3 separate regions of the Homo sapiens genome follow, and regions 2 and 3 are each linked to region 1. Evidence: promoter capture Hi-C in human tissues and cell types (Jung and others, 2019). All regions are on one chromosome and are shown on one strand. The core of a region is centred on a gene start or on the middle of the fragment in contact, and the rest is flanking DNA. Distances in the headings are between cores, read along the strand shown. Region 1 holds the start of CASZ1 (castor zinc finger 1). Region 2 overlaps CASZ1 (castor zinc finger 1). Region 3 has its middle 45 kb from the start of CASZ1.

Region 1 (2,951 bases), core at 166-2,665:
CTTGTCTTAGACAATCATCATACAGGGTTTTGGGTCGTTTCTCTGGTCCTGAGAGGCTTTCCTGACACCTTGCAGATTAGGCTCCAAATACTACCAGCCTGCAACAATGTTTACCAGCCTGTGGCATTGCCTCTTAGTTTAATGCATTCTGTTGAGCAGGGCTTGAAGCTGTGGGTCATACTTTGAATTTATATTCATTTATTCCACAAATCATTGATCTATTTCGTTTACTGTTATGGTCAGTTTCTCACTTATCTCATCATCTGGGTGTTTTCAGTTTCTTTCATGCCTCTCGATATTTCCATCCCACGCTTATGCTGAAGGGAAAAGCAGCTCAGGCCTGGAATGAGGGGTGCGCTTGCTGAGAAAGGCAAGACCAGAGCTACAGGGCCTCAGCACTGAAGCTGACTACTAGGCTCAGCTGGTGTGGCCACCTCAAACCAACTGGGAAATGGGAAGTCTGGGTATGGGAGAAAAGGGGGTTTCTTCAATAAAGTATGAAAGTGCCCCTCAAAAGGCCCTTCCCCCCCATCTGGGGGCAAGGGGATTATCTCTCGCAAGACACTGCTTTGTTTTGTTTTGTCAGAAATGAGGTCTAGCTATGTTGCCCAAGCTGGTCTCGAACTCCTGGGCTCAACCGATGCTCCTGCCTCGGCCTCCCAAAGTGCTGGGATTACAGGCGTAAACCACCATGCCGGCCCCCAAGACACTTTTTAGCCTATTGCCTTGGTTTATTTTCTTCATGGATACTTTCACTCTCTGAAATAACATTATCCACTTGTTTTAATGTGTATTATCTGCCCCCCCCCCAGCCCCTCCATGTAAGGTTCATTCTGCACGGCCTATCTTGCTCACTTAAGGATTTATTTCTTGCACAATAGATTGAATGAAAAACTCCCTTGCAAAGAATAAGTGCAAAGCAGATATCAAACAGTGAGAACATTTCGTTCCTTTGGGTTCCACAGTTCTAACATTCTAACTTGCAAAAAAGAGCCAGTTCTTCTGTCGAAAGTGGGAACCGAACTCGGGCTCTCTCGGGGTTCAGAACAGGTGGAAAGTAACCCCCCCCCCCATCCCTTCTCTCTTTTCCCCTAGCCTCAACTCAACTCAGCTGGGGGGGGGTGTAGAAGCCTCTGGACCTGCAAAAGGGGGCCGAGCGCTCAGATGCTCCTCCGCAGGCCGTGCGACTCGCCGCGCGCACACGCTGAGCTCAGCCCGGGCGGTGGGTGGGAAGGATCCGGGAGGGGCAGGTCTGGGGGTGTGAGGGTGGAGCGGAGCCCGGCCCCGCGATCCGGCCCGGGTTTTGCATGCCACCCACTCGCCCGCCCGGCCGCGGAGAATTCCATAATCACAGCGGGCGAGAGCGGAGACTGGGAGCGAAAAATCCGGGATCCGGCAACTTTGGGCAGCGCATGCGCGCCCGCGGCGCTCCATCCCAAACACACACACATTTTTCCCCCGGACTTGGAAAGTCACCCAAAGCCGCCCCAAGTGCAGGTAAGAGACTCGGCGCTCCCTCCGCCGCGGCCCCCCCACGTCCCCCAGCTCCGCGGGCCTCCCGGGGCGCCTCCCCGTCTCTCCCCCTGTCCCGGTGCACCCCCCCCACCCCCGGGGCTGCCGCTTGCAGCAGGGAGCGGGCGAGCGAGCGAGCGAGCGAGCCAGCCAGCCAGCCTGCGATCGGCGGCTGCCACCCAACTCCGGCCGTGCGGAGGCAGGGGGCACGGAGGGCTGGCACCCGGGCGCGGGGCGGCGCGTTGCCTGCCGTGGCCAGGGGAATGCCCGGCGCGCGGCTCCGGGGGAGGGGAGGGCTGCTCCTCCTGGGGGTCGCTTACTCCAACTGAGGGGGTGGCGGGGTAGGGGAGAAGAGAGGGAGGTGCCAGGCGCGAGCACAGGACTTTGCAAATAGGGTGGGGGCGCCCCACGCGCTGTGGGCTCCCGGGGGGGCAGGTGATCTCCAATACCGGGTAATCACTCCTTCCCCTTAAACCCCCACCCCACCCCACCCCCCAGCAGCAGAGGGGTCGTGCGCTCTCCAGGGCAGAGAAGGAGGCGGGGTGAGGGGTGCCTGGGGTGACTTTGCAAGACTTTGCCCATGGGAAGGGGTGGGTGGGGAACCCCTCCAGCCGGCTCTTGTGCCCGGATACCGGGTGTAGGTGCTGCCAGCAGAGGTAGGCAGTGTTCGCTTAGGCGCGGGGTGCCAAAGGGTATCCCCCATAGGAAATCGAAGGCAAGAGATTTCTTAGATGGGGGGAGCGGCGCCCCCTTTTTCATCTGTGCCTGGGAAGTTTATCTCAAGTGCGCTGCTCCAGGCGCGGCAAGTGGCGTTCCTCACTCCCTTCCCCACCCCACCCCCTGCCTCCCCAGCTGAAGGGCTGGCAACACAGGGCACGGGGAGCCGGGGCATCGGCCCAGAGCTGCCCGGCTGTCGGCTGGAGCCCGCCTGGGTCCCGGGGAAAGTTCGGGCGAGTTGTTGCCGGCTGTTGTGTGCGCCAGAAGAGAAGTTGCGCCCGGGGACGTGGGACGCTGGGCTGGCGGGCTAGCGGGCTGGTAGAGTGGTGCGCTCCGGGGGGGCTCTGCAGCGTGGGAGAGGGTCGGTCGGGGTCTGTTCCCCCAGGGTGGGCTGAGGGTGACCTCGGAGCTCAACAATTGGGGAGGAGGAGCCCTGAATCCAAGGGCACAGGGCTGAAATAGGCACCTGGTGAAGGACAGAGAAAAAAGTAGTTTGTGGGGGCGCAGGGAACACCAAAGGGAGAGAGCCGGTTTCCCGGTCACTTAGGGTCCGGCTTAACGGCAAAGGAGAGCGTGGTGACTGACGGAGGAGCGTCGGGGAGCGGGGATCCAGGGGGCGCGCGGGAATGGGGGATCGGGCCAGACCGAGTCAGGGATCTCCCGGGGCAGGGGGCCGATTCGTGCGCCCGGGGTGAGCCGGACGGGCGGAGCGGCGGCCGGTT
Region 2 (2,951 bases), core at 155-2,654, 43 kb after region 1:
TGTGAGTCCCACGCCGTGCTGCTCTCCAGGCAGAGAGAGGATCGGTCCCAGCTGCGGGGAGGAGGTCTGGTGACACAGAGATGGGTCCCCTCGGGCACCCCTCCAAAGACCCTGGAAATGCATCCTAGTGAAAATGCTTAGGACGAGGGTGTGAGGAGCACCTGGTTTAGGGGGCAGGACTGAGGAAGCCTGGGGTCCAGTAGGGTCAGGGGAGAGGAACTGGATGCTTGAGGAGCCCACTGGGTTGGGCCAGGGCTCAGCCTCAGGGGTTCAGAGCCGGAAGAGGTGGTGGTCCAAGTCCTGACCTGTCACCTCTGGCTATTCATTTTCCATTTCCATTCAGCGACACTGTGGGTAGTCATTGTAGGTGCTCGAAATGAAGAAGAGGCCAACGTCCTGCCCTCATGAGGTTTACATTCGGATGGAGGGAGCCAAATGATACAGGAGAAAAAGGAATAAAGGATGTGCTGGATGGCGATGCGTGGGAAGGAGAAAACAAGAGCCTCTTTGCAGACTAGAATAGGGAGTGAGAGGCAGGTGGATGGATGGTTTGTCATTTTAGATGTGGCTCCCAGGGAAGGGGTCACTGCGATGGTGACATTTGGGTGAAGACAGAAAGGAAGTGAGGGAGTGAGCCAACCTAATCGATATCTGTAGGAAGAGCATTCATAGCAGGTGTGAGATCCCAGAGGCGTGTTGGAGAAGCAAGGAGACCAGCGTGGCTAGAGCAGAGTGAGGGGCAGATGCCATCTGAAGTCGAGGGGGTCAGGGTGGGGGGCCCTCAGATCCCGTAGGCCTTGCAGGCCATTGTGAGAACTCTGGCTTTTACCCAGAGTGAAATAAGAAGCTTTTTGAAGAGTTCTGAGTGCCATGATCTGATTAGGAACAAGCTCTTTATTAAAAAACAAGACCCACCTGTCACCGACTCCGCCTCTCACAGGTCGCATATGTGCCCGGATCGCCCTTCTTGAATGCACTCTCTCGATGTTTCATCTGGGAGCGGGCAGAGAGGGCACAGAGGGGTCTGTCTGGAACTTGCCCTGCTCTAGCCTGGGCCTCCTTTCCCCGGTCCTTCTGGGGAGCCGCTCAGAAACAGGGTCTTGTCACTTTAAGCAGACCCCCACCCGCCTCCCTGGCCTGCTTTATCTGAAGTCCAAGCGCATGTTGTTCCAGGACCGATCCGCTTTAGCTAATTAATAATCTGACAGGAGCCACCCAGGGGATTAGCCGTTGAGCTGAGCTCCACCAAGCCCCAGCAAATGAGCCCTGTGCTCCTTGGGGACATGGAGGTGACTTTGCGGGGTGCAGTGAGAGGGGACCCCCGCAGGTGAGCTGTGGTATTGGACAGTGCAGCAGTGACGGGTGAGGGAGGAGGCTGGGCAGGGCAGAAAGTGATGAGAAGAGCCTCTTGAAAAGAATCTGCTGTCCTGAGACGGACAGGGACCTCCACTCCCCCTCACTGCCTCTTCTGTCCTGCTCACCCCGTAGGAACTGTACCCCCCTGCCGGGGGCTACCTGCTGAGTCATCAGGACGGGGCTGCCAGAGTTAGCAAATAAAAATACAGGATACCTAGTACATTTAAATTTCACACAAATAGCACGGACTTTTTAGTATAAGTATATTCCATGCAATGTTTGGGACATACTTATATGAAAATAGTATTCATTGTTTTTTGTTTTGTTTTGTTTTGTTTTTTGAGATGGAGTTTTGGTCTTGCTGCCCAGGCTGGAGTGCAATGGCACAATCTCGGCTTGCTGCAACCTCCGCCTCTCAGGTTCAAGTGAGTCTCTTTCCTCAGCCTCCCCAGTAGCTGGGATTACAGGTACCCGCCACCACACCCAGCTAATTTTTTGTATTTTTGGTAGAGTCGGGGTTTCACCATGTTGGCCAGGCTGGTCTCGAACTCCTGACCTCAGGTGATCCACCCACCTTGGCCTCCCAAAGTGCTGGAATTACAGGCGTGAGCCACGGCACCTGGCCGTATTCATTGTTTATTAGAAATTCACATTTCACTGGGCATACTGTATTTTCTCTGGCAGCCCTAAGCAGGGAGGGCTGGCAACTAGGGGGGCTCCCTCTCCAGGGCAGCTGGGACCTCCTTCTGGAAGAGCCAGCACTCCCTGGGGAGCTGCCTGGGGACTTTGCAAGCAAGGCAGGGCTGGGGTCACGATGACCTCCACTCCCACAGTACAGGGAGAGGAGGATGGAGGCAAACGCCGGCCACTTGCTGGAGTCTCCCAACCTGTATTTGGGCCCAGGTGGCCCTTGGGTGAATCGAGTCTAAGTCCCCACAGGGACATCTGTGGCCACCAGGCTGGGGAGCAATTCCCCAGGACCGCCTTCCCTGGTGAGGCTGCTATCTAGGAATAGTCTAGGGGCCTCTCCAGAGGAGGCCACCTGAAGTTTCTGGGGTAATTTGGAAAGATGACCATCCGCTAAGGGCATCTGTTCTGAGCCCAGGGAGAGGTGGGCAGGGATGGCCCACTGTGTAGGAGGGGCTGGACCAGGCCAGGCACAAGGTCAGGGACGACAGCCTGCTATGCAGGGCCACCTCTGTGTTCCAGGACCTTTGGGCACTGAGCAAGAATCCCCGTCTGCTGCCCTCTCCATGCCCACCCCAACTGGGCAGCCCGTGCTAGCTCCTTGGGGAGGGTGTGCCCTGCAGGGTGCTGGCCTGCCTGGGCTGTCACTGCGGGCAGGGAGGGGAGGGCCAGTCTGGAGTGGAAAGCTTGATGGGGTCCTTACTGCTCCCTCTGGTGACCCCTCACATCCTAGATCCGTTCCTGTGGACAGAGAGCTTAGGGCTGCCAGCTGGTGGAGGTCCAGCCTCCTGCAGCCAAGGAGCTTGATGCCAGGCGGGCAGTGCCCCAAGGTGGGAGCTCTTTGCTCTGGCTCTGTTCTCTAGGAGTTAACAGCATCCTGTGCCCTGGGAGGCCTCCTCTGCCCTGGC
Region 3 (2,951 bases), core at 204-2,703, 45 kb before region 1:
CAAAGGGTAAAGGGAACAGGGATGGTAGAATGGTGGGCTCCAGAGGAAGGGCTTTCACTGTTTCCACAAGGTGGTTCCAAGAATGTGGCATTTGAGCAGACCTTGAGGGAGGCGAGGGAACCAGCTGCATGGGGACCTGGACAAGGGATTCCAGGCAGAGGGAGCAGCCTGGGGCTCCTAGGGCCCCATAAGCAGTGACCGGTATGAGCCACCATGATGAGCCACTGGCTCGCCAGTCTCTGCCTGCGGAACTGGGCCCCAGGAGCCCAGAAACAAGTGCTCAGCTTTGATTTCTGCCCTGAAAAGAGACCATGCCTGCTGTGTTCAAGGAGGAGCAGAGGCCAGCCAGGGTCACGGGGGTGAGCTGGGAGGAGGGTAGAGACGAGGTCAGTGAGGTTGGGCTTTGTGGTCAATGCAAGGACTTTGACTTCTACAATGAGTGACACAGAAGTTATTGGAGGGCCCTGAGAAGAGAAGCAGGATCATCTGAGTTAGGTTCTAGAGGGTCCACTCTGGACTGTAGGGGGTAAGATTGGAAGTAGGGAGACATAAGGAGGCCCCTGCAATCACTCAAAGGAGAAATGATGGAGACTCAGACGGGGCCGCATCAGTGGGGAGGATGAGCAGTGGTTGCATCCTGGGTACCTTCTGAAAGGAGCGACACCAGGATTTGCCTACATTTGGATGTAGGGTAGAGAGAAAGGGAAGTAAAAGGAGAGTCTAAAGGTTTTGACCTGAGCAGTTAGAGGAATTGAGCTGCACTTATAAGAAGGGCAGGCTTGGCCAGGCACTGTGGCTCACGCCTGTAATCCCAGCAGTTTGGGAGGCCAAGGAGGGCAGATCACTTGAGGTCAGGAGTTCAAACCAGCCTGGCCAACATGGCAAAACCCCATTTCTACTAAAAATACAAAAATTACCTGGGTGTGGTGGCAGGTGCCTGTAATCCCAGCTACTTGGGAGGCTGAGGCAGGAGAAGCGCTTGAACCCGGGAGGCGGAGATTGCAGTGAGCCAAGATTGCACCACTGCACTCCAGCCTGGGCAACAGAGCGAGACTCCATCTCAAAAAAAAAGAAAAAGGGCAGGCTTGGTGATGAGCAGGTGTAGGGTGGGGTGGGGCAGGGCTGAGGGGCATCAAATACACAGCCGTCTCCTCCTGCCACAGTGGGCCACCCCACTCTTTCTCAATGATCTTAGATGCACCCCGAGAATTCTCCACACAGTGCATATAGTAGGTCCATCATAGTTCCATTAGGAGGCAGCAAGGTGAGAGTTTGAGCTTGGGAGTGCTGATTCCCTGGACTCACATCCTGGCCCCACCACTAAGTAGCTTATGTCTTCAGGCAAGTGGCGTCATTACTGGGGGCCTCTGTTTCTCATTTGTTGAATGTTTCTGCGTTTCCTAGCTCCCTACTGTATTAAATGGGGTCATACTCGGCATTTATCTCATTGGGGTTTTGTGAAGACTTAGATGAAGAAGATGTATGGAAAGGCCCACACACGGTGCCTGAAACACAGGAAGCGTCCTATAAACGGTGACCGGTACACTCCACCCCAGGTCCTACTGGTTCACCCGTCTTTGTCTGAGGAAGAGAACTTCATGGCCCCAGGAACCCAGAAACAAGAGCTCAGGTTTGATTTCTGCCCTGTGAATGCCTAACCAGAGTTCTGGAGAATGCTGCATGGACCCAGATGAAAACGCTCTCATTTTTGGACAGAGTGGGCAGTCGCTGAAATATAAGAAGTCCCTGTTGAAAAACGTCCCTGCTGTGAGCACTGCTGGGTGGATTAGCTGGCATTCCTTCTCCTCCATTGAGCGGAGTCGCAAGCTAATAAATATTTCAGAATTGGCTGTATTCAATCCAGCCCTTGTCCCGTTTGACGTCTGTTCTCTCAGCTTTCAGGAGACAGGTGCAGAAGGATGAAAAGGGATTTAATTACTAAACATCCCCAACTCCCGATATGCAAACACATGCTGTACTGTACACACACCTACTGCGCACAGTCACGCACACCCCCTGCACTCACACACGTGTGCAGATACAGCCCGGGGCACACATGTACCCACGGGACCCTCTGGACACCCACTCTACTCTAGTAGTGACCTCTCTACTGTATCGGGGAGATCTCCCATGCATGCCTGCACACAGCTTGCACAGGAGTCCCACAGGAGTCCCATGGGCAAACGATACATGGGAACACACATGTGCCCCTGTGTATGCAATAGCCTTGGTTGTTAACATGAGCATGTTTACAGTCAATGTGCGTGGAAGGTACATGTACATGTGCATTTATTTTATTTATTTATTTATTTTTTGAGACAGAGTCTCGCTCTGTCGCCCAGGCTGGAGTGCAGTGGCGTGATCTCGGCTCACTGCAAGCTCCACCTCCTGGGTTCATGCCATTCTCCTGCCTCAGCCTCCCAAGTAGCTGGGGCTACAGGTGCCCACCACCAGGCCTGGCTAATTTTTTTTTGTATTTTTAGTAGAGATGGGATTTCACCATGTTAGCCAGGATGGTTTCAATCTCCTGACCTTGCGATTCGCCCACCTCGGCCTCCCAAAGTGCTGGGATTACAGGTGTGAGCCACCATGCCCGGCCTACATGTGCATTTATAACATGTGCACACACAGATATGCATACACTCAATAATACAGTCACACAGATGTTCACGTCTCCACATACATGTGTGTAATGTGTTTCTGAAGAGAGGACATTTCAAAAGCCCTATTGTTGTCAAGCCATGCTGTTCACTCTAGGGGGAGGTTACGTAATTTAGCAAAAAGGCAAATGGAAAGGGGCCATAGAGGCCTTTCACACTGAAAACTTCGATTTTCCCTGACACATGAGTGAGCGCACACACAGCACACAGATGCACACCTGTGCACACAGACGTACAGATCCACATACATCTGTGTCAAGATGCACATCTTCTCCCCTGTATTCAAGACTG

Evidence for each region. The method cuts DNA at HindIII sites, captures the fragments that hold promoters and counts their contacts. A contact is called where the count stands out against the background at its distance.
Region 2: a contact is called between a fragment that was not itself captured here and the fragment with the promoter of CASZ1 in region 1, in 9 of the 25 tissues and cell types used here (H1 embryonic stem cells, IMR-90 fibroblasts, dorsolateral prefrontal cortex and 6 more).
Region 3: a contact is called between a fragment that was not itself captured here and the fragment with the promoter of CASZ1 in region 1, in 2 of the 25 tissues and cell types used here (liver and neural progenitor cells).

Annotation. Positions count from the first base shown.
Region 1 is chr1:10,795,110-10,798,060 of GRCh38, reverse strand. It overlaps CASZ1 (castor zinc finger 1), which reads left to right and starts at 1,415. Exons shown (of 21, transcript NM_001079843.3): 1 at 1,415-1,497. The HindIII fragment of the contact is 29,932 bases long and covers 1-2,951 here.
Region 2 is chr1:10,751,784-10,754,734 of GRCh38, reverse strand. All of the region lies in intron 2 of CASZ1 (castor zinc finger 1), which reads left to right. Among named protein-coding and RNA genes, the nearest start is that of CASZ1, 43 kb to the left of the region's middle. RefSeq lists a silencer at 1-29. The HindIII fragment of the contact is 6,133 bases long and covers 1-2,951 here.
Region 3 is chr1:10,840,263-10,843,213 of GRCh38, reverse strand. No RefSeq gene overlaps it. Among named protein-coding and RNA genes, the nearest start is that of CASZ1, 45 kb to the right of the region's middle. RefSeq lists an enhancer at 2,778-2,951. The HindIII fragment of the contact is 8,199 bases long and covers 1-2,951 here.